2 separate regions of the Homo sapiens genome follow, and region 2 is linked to region 1. Evidence: promoter capture Hi-C in 16 types of primary human blood cells and fetal thymus (Javierre and others, 2016). All regions are on one chromosome and are shown on one strand. The core of a region is centred on a gene start or on the middle of the fragment in contact, and the rest is flanking DNA. Distances in the headings are between cores, read along the strand shown. Region 1 holds the start of SSTR4 (somatostatin receptor 4). Region 2 has its middle 57 kb from the start of SSTR4.

Evidence for each region. The method cuts DNA at HindIII sites, captures the fragments that hold promoters and counts their contacts. A CHiCAGO score of 5 or more calls a contact.
Region 2: a contact is called between a fragment that was not itself captured here and the fragment with the promoter of SSTR4 in region 1, in 1 of 17 cell types (neutrophils). The highest score is 7.1, in neutrophils.

Annotation. Positions count from the first base shown.
Region 1 is chr20:23,032,322-23,036,848 of GRCh38, reverse strand. It overlaps SSTR4 (somatostatin receptor 4), which reads right to left and starts at 1,537. Exons shown (of 1, transcript NM_001052.4): 1 at 1-1,537. The coding sequence starts at 1,365. The coding sequence ends at 199. RefSeq lists an enhancer at 450-996. The HindIII fragment of the contact is 5,481 bases long and covers 1-1,940 here.
Region 2 is chr20:22,976,241-22,980,780 of GRCh38, reverse strand. No RefSeq gene overlaps it. Among named protein-coding and RNA genes, the nearest start is that of SSTR4, 57 kb to the left of the region's middle. The HindIII fragment of the contact is 3,025 bases long and covers 249-3,273 here.

The DNA.
Region 1 (4,527 bases), core at 288-2,787:
CATCCTTTTGAAAGCCAGAGTGCAGGGGAGAGGAGAGCAGCAGAAGAGTTCTGACACTCTCCGGCAGGTACATGGGCTGCTGGAAGGAACAGGTGGTGGAGCTTAGGTGAGCATTCAGGAGATGCAGTCTTCGGGGCTGTAGGAATGGTGCCCACCCCTTGGGAGGTGGCCACGCAGGGTGGGTAGGGGAAGGGCTCCTCAGAAGGTGGTGGTCCTGGTGAGGGGGATGCGCTTGCGGCCGGGTTCTGGTTGCAGGGCTTCCTGCTGGCAGGGGAGTGGGGGGCACATGCACCCTGCCCCACCTTTGCTCTTGAGAGCAGTGGCATAGTAGTCCAGGGGCTCCTCCTCAGCACCTCCAGCACCTTCCAGGAGGCAGCAGCGCAGGCAGAGAACCCGCTGGAAGAATCGGCGGAAGTTGTCGGAGAGGAAGCCATAGAGAATGGGGTTGGCGCAGCTGTTGGCATAGCTAAGGATAAGGGACACGTGGTTGACGGTGGCATCAAGGCTGGTCACGAAGAGGTTCAGCAGCTGCACCACGTAGAAAGGCATCCAGCAGAGCACAAAGACGACCACGACCATCAGCACCAGCCTGGTGATTTTCTTCTCCGAGCGCCTGCGCTGCTGCCAGCCAGCGCGCAGGGCCACGGCGCGCATCTTGCCCACGATGAGCAGGTAGCACAGGCCAATGGCCAGCACGGGCAGCAGGAAGCCCAGCAGGAAAGTGTAGACCACGAAGACTGCCGACCAGGCCGGGTGTGGCCACTGCAGGTTGCAGGCCACGGCCTGGCCGCCGCGAGCCGGTCTGGTGTCTGCGAAGATGGCGATGGGGAGAGTGACCAACAGGGATGCCAGCCACACGCCCAGGTTGATGAGCTTGGCCACGCTGGGCCGCCGGTAGGTCGCCGCGCGCAGAGGGTGCACCACGGCCACGTAGCGGTCCACGCTGAGCACGGTGAGACAGAAGACGCTGGTGAACATGTTGAGGCCGTCGACGCTGAGCACCGCGCGGCACAGCACGGAGCCGAAGGGCCAGTGGCGCAGGGCGGCCGACGAGGCCACGAAGGGCACGCTCAGCATGAAGAGCTCGTCGGCTACGGCCAGGTTGAGCAGGTAGATGTTGGTAGCCGTCTTCATCTTGGCGTAGCGAAGGATCACGAAGATGACCAGGGCGTTGCCCACCAGCCCCACCAGGCACACCAGCGCGTAGATGCACTGGATAGCGACCATGCCCGCCGCCCGCGCGTCCCCGGGCCCCGCCACCGCCTCCTCCGCCTCCGCCGGAGCGCTACTGGCATTGGCTGCAGAGGGCCAGGCCGTCCCCAGCCCTTCCTCGCCCCCGGGGGGCAGCGTCGAGGGGGCGCTCATGACCAGGGGTGCCGGCGCAGGGCAGCTGAGCGCGGCGGAGCTAGCGCTGCGCCAGAGAGCTCGGGCGGCGGGCCCAGGGCGGGGGCTGGCGCGCAGACGCGCGGCTCTTCCCGGCTACGCTGAAGAGCTGCGGGCACCGGGGAGCGCCCGCCAATCCCCGCGCCGCGCGCCCCACCGCGCGGGCGCCCGACTGGCTCGCACCGCTGTGGCCCGCGCCCCTCGGCACCCCAGCTCCTGGGGGTCAGCGCCTCACCCAGCCCTGGAGTCGTCTCCGGCCCCGCCCCGTTTTCCCACCTCGGTCGCCCCCTCCCCGCTGCCGACTCTGCCCCAGGTTCCCAGGTCTCCAGTCCGGCTCCAGTGTCAACAGCACCCCCAGCCCCGTCCGGCCCTCCCGGGGTCCCCCGCCTGGCTTCTTTCCTTCAGACCTCTATTCAGATCCCGTCTTCCCCAGCAGCCCTTTGAGGTCCAGTTCCCTGCTTTGCTACAGGGGGTCTGCGGCGGCGGGGCTGGGGGTCCCGGAGTCCTCCCTTTGGGTAAAGATGTGCCCGGAACTGGTCAGGGACCACCTGGAAGCTTGGACCACTTGCCTTGCACTTGACATCCCCTCACCCTGCCCTTTAATCCTCGCGACGACCCATCCTTGCACATGGCTGAGTCCCTTTTATAGAGGCGGAACCTGAGGCTTCCACTGGCGGCTTGGTGAATTTCAGGTCTGTCAGGATGTCCAGTTTTCCCCACAGCTCACCACTCCTTTCTCTGCTCCCCAACCCACTCTGGACAAGTGCAGATGCCGGACCTTTTAACTTCTGTGTCCGAGCAGCTGAGGTGCTATGGGCACAAGGAATGGAGACGGACAGGTGGAGGCAGAGATGCCACCAAAGAAGGCCAAGCCTGTGCTAGCTCCCTCGGGAACTGGCAGAAGCTACGGGAGCCGGACATCTCAGAACCTTCACCCTGTGACCTGGTTCAGTCATTATCCGCGGGTCTCCATCCCTGGCCACTAAAATGTGCCTGGGGAGGACTGTGGTCGAGAGGTCGGGAAAGAAAGGGGTTCCGGCCTGGAATTACCCTTCTTCTGCTAAACTCCAGAGATAGTGAGTTCACTGGCTCCTGGACTGGACACCCAGGAGCAGCCGCCGGCTCCAGCCCTAGTCCCTCTAGCTGGCACAGGGCACAGGAACGTTCCTGAACTGGGGATTGGCCTGGGAAAGTTATTCTTAAAGTAGCTCTGACTTTTAGGATCCTGGCTGTCTTTGGCCCCTTCTCTGTGGGATGGTGGCCCCCTTTAGCCCCCAGTACAGCCCAGAAAGGCCTTTAGTGGGTCTAAAATTGGCCACCTGGGGGGTGGGGTCTCAGCTTTCCGCTGGGTGGCTGGGACAGCGATGGGGAGGAGGGAGTCCTGTTGCAACTGGAGGAGGCCTTTCTAAGACTGGGGGGTGGGGGAAGCTGCCCACTGCTGTTTATCCAGGTGTGGGATGGGAGCACGGGCATGATCAGCACCAGTGCAGCCCCATAGTTGACCTCAACCACTGTCTCCAGTCTCTGCTACTCAAATAGATGTATTGGGAGGATTTGGTCTAGCACTCCTCCACTCTGTAGGTTGGTCTGTCCTTTCCTTTTTGTCCCTAAGAGAGAGACCTTTCACATCTTTGTCCTTAAGAGAGAGACCCTTCCCTGAGAAAGAGGAAGGAGATGGCACCTTTGTCATTCTACTTGGTGCCATCCTTTGGTGGAAGGGAACAAGAGCAACCTCAGATTTGGGAGGGAAGAGGAGTTTAGGGGCTTTTCCCTTTAACCCTGGTCTTGGGAAGACCCTTAGGTGGCTCCTCTGCAGATAGCCTTTCCAGGGCTTAGTGTGGAAGTGCTGGGGGCTATCTTGTCTTCCTGGTCTCCTCTCTTCTGCTGTCCTCTCTGCCCATTGAACACTCGGCCCCTTCCCTTTCCTGAGAAAGTATTTCTTCTTGTCCTGCCTCATGTGTGAGCCCCTGGAATCTTTCCTGTGCCTACTTTAGGTTTTTCTCCTAATGCTCCCCGATTCTGCCCTCCTCTCCCCATACACATGTGTATGCCTCCAAGCATAGTAAGCTAGCATGTAAGAAGAGAAGCATGCACGACTGTCCCCATTGGTTATTAGCCCTATGTGATAAACAGCTAGTGCTTCCAGGAACTTACTTCCCTGTGCTCTAGGCCCCCTCTGCAGCATGAGGGCCTCATCCTCAATACAGAGCTTTCCAATACAGGCTGTATGCTGGAATTACCTGAAGGCCTCACACAGGGATGCCTGGGCCCTGTCTTCAGAGACTCTGACTGAATTATCTGGAGTGGTGTCCAGGCATCCAAATATTTTGAAGGCTCCCGGGTACTTCTAAAGTGCACAGATGCAACATTAGATGGAGAGACAGAGAGGCAGCAGCCTGGGGACCAACTGCAATGTACAGATATTACTGTGCGTTCAGGAGGGCTAGCAGAAGAGGTCAGGAGAAATGTCAGGAAAGCCAAAAAGAGAGGCCCCTGCTTACAGGAGCAGGAAGCTGGAGACCGCTGAAGGGCAGCCTCGGGGCCCTGGGACAGGAAGAGGCTGGGGCAGCTGGGTGCCCATGGCTGTTCTCTCTCAGGATACTAAAGAAGCAATGGAACAGGAAACCAGCCGCTACCTTTCTCCCCCAGGAGAGGAGACCTAGAGAAACTTTCACGCTGAGTTAAAACACAGGAAAACAAAGTCTGTTTATGAGACGCTTTTCAGCACACCCGTCCCGTTCTTTTGCCCAGTACACACTGGGGCCTCTTCCTTGTCTGTTGATTAAACTCCAGCATCAGGTCCAAGTGGCTTCCCTGTACATTGTCAAGAGTGGCATGGAGCCAAAGGCTGAGTCTAAGGGATCTTCTCCTCCAAGTGCTGAAAGCATGGCCCACAGGCCTAACTGATCCCTGTGGAGCTTCCAGCCCAGTGATGAGATAGTGAATCAGGGGCCTCTCAGCCCCTCCTGAAGCCAGAAGCAGCAGCTCCTTTGTTAGAGATGTGAATAACTCACCTCCCATCTCCACACTTCAAAACTGCTGCTCAAGCTTGGAGGTACTTGCAACCTCAAGCAATCTTCAGAACCTCTGGCCTGCAAGTCAGAGAGACACAGCTTTCCCTGCAAATCACAGTGCACCAAGAGG
Region 2 (4,540 bases), core at 512-3,011, 56 kb after region 1:
GAAAGGTAGACCAAAAAGAGGTAACCACACAAACCCCAAACAAACAAACACAAGGAAACTGGAGGAGGCACACAATATAGTAAAGAGAATGTTTTTAAAAGGAGCCCAGAGAAAACAAGGTAGCAAACAGGAAAAAAGATGACCCAAGGCAAGTTATTCCGTTTTAAACATGTGATACTGTGCAAAACGGAAAAAATCAGATAAGATGAAGGAAGACCCAGAAATGAAAAATGTGATAGCCAAAAGCTTAGTTTGTTCTAGCTGCTGTAACAAAATGTCAGAAACCGGGTGGCTTTTAGAAAACAGAAATTTGTTTCTCACAGCTCTGGAGGCTGGGAAATCCAAGATCAAGGCATCAGCAGATTTGGTGCCTGGTGAGGACTCTCTGTCTGGTTCACAGGCAGCATCTTCTTGCTGTGTCCTTGGTTTTTTTGTTTGTTTGTTTGTTTGTTGTTTTTTGTAGACGGAGTCTCCCTCTGTTGCCCAGGCTGGAGTGCAGTGGTGCAATCTCGGCTCACTGCAACCTCCGCCTCCTGAGTTCAAATGATTCTCCTGCCTCAGCCTCCCGAGTAGCTGGGACTACAAGTGCATGCCACCATGCCTGGCCAATTTTTGTATTTTTAGTAGAGACAGGGTTTCACCGTGTTAACCAGGATGGTCTCGATCTCCTGACTTCTTGATCCGCCCACCTCAGCCTCCCAAACTGCTTGGATTACAGGCATGAGCCACTGTGCCTGGCCTCTCCCTTGGGTTTTTAAATTAAGGGCCCTAATATCATTCATGAAATCACCCTCCAAAGACTTTGCCTTGTAATATCATAATCTTAAAAGTGAGAATTTCGACACAGGAATTTGGGGTGAGGGACATATACATTATGACCATATCAATATTGTAGAGAAATATTAGAAGATTAAAGGACTCTTTTGGGAAGTAAAATAGACAAAAAAGAAGCAGAAAAATAGAGAAAAGAAACCTAGAGGCATCTTCTGTTCCAGAAGATGCAGCAACTGGCTCTTCAGAGTTCCAGGAAGGCTGAAAAGCATAAAGGAAAGGAACCTGTCAAATAAGCAGTGGAACAATTCTATACTCCTGAGGCATGTGTCTCCAAGTTAAAGAAGCCGTAAGAGTACCCCCCCAAAAGACAGGAGAAACATACATACCAAGGACACCTTCATGACATTTTGGGGTTCTAGAGAGAAAAAAAAAACGTCCTGAAGGTTGAGGGTGACACAGAGAGAGCAGAAAGGAGAGAAGATCCCATTAAAAAAAAAATCAGAAGGCAATGCTGGAAGGGAAGAAGTTAGTGCAGCAAAACCTTCAAATTCTAAAGTACAGCCTAGAATTCCACATCCAGTCAAATAATAAAGTAGAGGCAGAATCCAGATATCCAAAAATATCAGGTGTCTGCTTCCAGGAAGATAGAATAGATGGACTATCTATCTATCCATCCCTATCCATCCTGCTAAAAGTAACTAAAATTTGGGACATTGTGTGCAAAGCAAACATAAGCCTCTGAAAGGTGAAGAGAAAGAGGCAGATGGGCCAGGGACCCCAGGACCCAACGGATGACCTAGCGGTAAGTCCCAGGAATCTCTTTTTGATTCATATTCCAGAGTCAGAGCTAAAGAAGTGAGCCACCCAGAAATACCAACAGGCACAGGCAAGAAAGGCCCCCCAAAAGCCTGCTCTCTCTGGCCAAAGAACTAAGACTTGGCAAGACATAAAACCTTCAGGCACACTGCCAGTGAGAATGTAAATTGTATAACCTCTTTGGAGAACAGCGTGGAGATATGGCAAAGAACTAAAAATAGAATTACCCTTTGGAGTGGCAACGCCACTACTGTGTATCTACCCAGAGGAAAAGAAATCATTATATAAAAATGATACCTGCACTCATATGTTATCACGGCACTATTCGCAATAACAGTAATATGGAATCAGTTTAAGTGTTCATCAGCAGATGATTGGATAAAGACAATGTGATACATATACACAATGGAATACTACTCAGTCAAAAAAAATGAAGTCATGTCTTTTGAAGTAACATGGATGGAACTGGAGGCCGTTATCTTAAGTGAAATAACGCAGAAACAGAAAATCAAACACCACGTTTTCATTTATAAGTGGGAGCTAAATAGTGTATAAACTAGGACAAATTGTGAAATGATGGACATTGGAGACTCGGGAGGGTAGGGAATAGGAGACAGGTGGGTGATGAAAAATTACTTAATGGGTAGAGTACACATTATTTGGGTGATGGGTGCCCTAAAAGCCCAGACTTCACAACTATACAATATATTGATGTAACAAAATTATACTTATATCTCTTAAGTTTATACAAATTTAAAAAAGAAAGCCTGTTAGCAACATCTGCTTTACTCCATCTAAACACCACAGAAAATCGGCAGCCCCATCTCCACTCACCAAGGCCAGATGGGGAGCCTAGACTACCAGGCTAATGAGGAGTCCAGCCCCCACAATGAATGGGTCACCGTCAGAGAAGACTGAGTAGGGAGCCAAGACTTCCATCCCTGCCAGCCTGTGAAAGTCCCTCACTCCCATGTTACCAGGAAGACCGTGGAGGGAGCCTGGACTTTTTGTGGATGCTCATCAAGTTGGAAGAGTTTTCTTCTATTCCTATTTTTCTGAGAGTTTCATCATAATGGGTGTTGAATTTTGTCAAATGCTTCCCTTCCCCCTTGATATGACCATGTGATTTTTATTTAGTCCGTTAACATGGTGGATTATATTCATTTTTACATATTAAAGCAGCCTTGAACTCCTGGGGAAAAAAAATCTCACTTGATCATGGTATATAGTTATGTATTGCTGAATTCTATTTACTAATATTTTGTATGGATTATTGCATCCGTATTTTTTAGGGATAGTGGTCTTTGGGGTTTTTTAGTACTATCTGGTTTTGGTATCATAGTAATTCTATAATCACAAAATTAACTGGCATAGCATCCTTTCTGCCTTATTCTTTTGGTCAAGTCATCAGAGCCAGGATCAAGGGGAGAGCACATAGAGTGCAAAGAACTTTGGGGCCACATTTAAAGCCACCATAAAATTCAGTTAGGCATTCTGAATTATGACTCAAAAGGCATTATTTCAGGAACAATTTAATGGGGAATAATACTGTGCTTTCAGAACATCACAGGCTAAACTTTTGGGTGGGGGCAGAAGGAAGGGAACCATCTGCCTTTGTGGCTTGTCTGCATTGTTTCTATGGGAAATGTGTTCTGAATTCCTAAAACAATGTGCAAACAAGCTTTTTTAACTCAACCCTTTGTTTGCTGTATGATATTTCTTAATTCTGAAATGTAAAAAGCCAGTGGGGTAAGTCGTACAAGGTGACTGGCAGGACCTGCTGGAGCTGAAAAGGAATTGGGTAAGAAAATAGTGGCGATGGTTGCACAGCTTATTACAAGTGCCTGAAATTTGTTGGCCTGAAAGCCAAGGCTGATCTGTTACTGGATGATTGCCATTCTTAGACAAGTGATGGCAGATCCAAGGGTGTTGCTTCCTCTCATGTCCTCAGCGCTAGTGTCCTTGGGGACAGCAAGTGTTTTCCTGGCAAGCCACACTTTTCAGTTCTTTCATAGCTTTAGTCAACAGAAAAGCAGCCCTATGCTTTCCCACAAGCTAGTTGAGAGTTGTGGAACTCCACATTCCTGGATGTGCACAAATTCCTTGTGGTACCTCTTGCTTAGACTGGCGCCAGCCACTCTTGTTACAAGTTTACTTTACACTTAAACCCCTTCTCACAACATTTCCTGCCAGGTGGGGTGGTGAACCTAGCGGGGACTGTGATCTCTACAGTTTTAGGACCTCCTTTAAAGAATAGTCTGTCCATTAAAAGAACCGTCTAGATTTCTACTATGTGTCCCAAGTTTCTTAGTTTGCTTGTGTTGTCTCAATTTCCCCATTTGTAGAACTTCTTCTTCATGGACTTCCATCATAGAAGCTAACACCACAGGCAAGTTCCCTTCCCCACTGAGGGTGGGCTCACCCATGCTGGGGACTCCCTGCTCATCTGACCATTGATAGTTTGCCTCCTCTCATTGACTTCCGATTGTCTCTTAATTTGTTAAATATTTCCTTTGTTTCCTCTTGTTCCCCCAGAGGCTCAGTCGACTTTGTTCCTCTGCCTACCACCACCTCTGGGTTCTGGAACAGAATATCCAAGACCAAATTCTGTCATAGATGGCAGTACATGTGACAAGGCCATCCTCATGTCAGCATGTCAGGTGAGGGCAGGTTTGGGCACTCTGGCCTATGGGAAAACCCAGACGAAACCAATATGGATAGGGTATTGGTACAAGTAGCTCCCCACCCACCTGCTCACTCTCCTCCCAGTTCCTGTAGTCCTTGAATAGGTTCTGCACTCTAAAGCTTTGATATACATTTAATTGGTAACCGACAGCTGACTGAATTGTGAGGTGCTTAAAGAGGAGACAGGTTGTGCTACAGATAGACTGCAGTCAGTCACAAGATGTGTCTGGAATATGGGTTTTTTTGTGCCACGGACCTCTTTGGC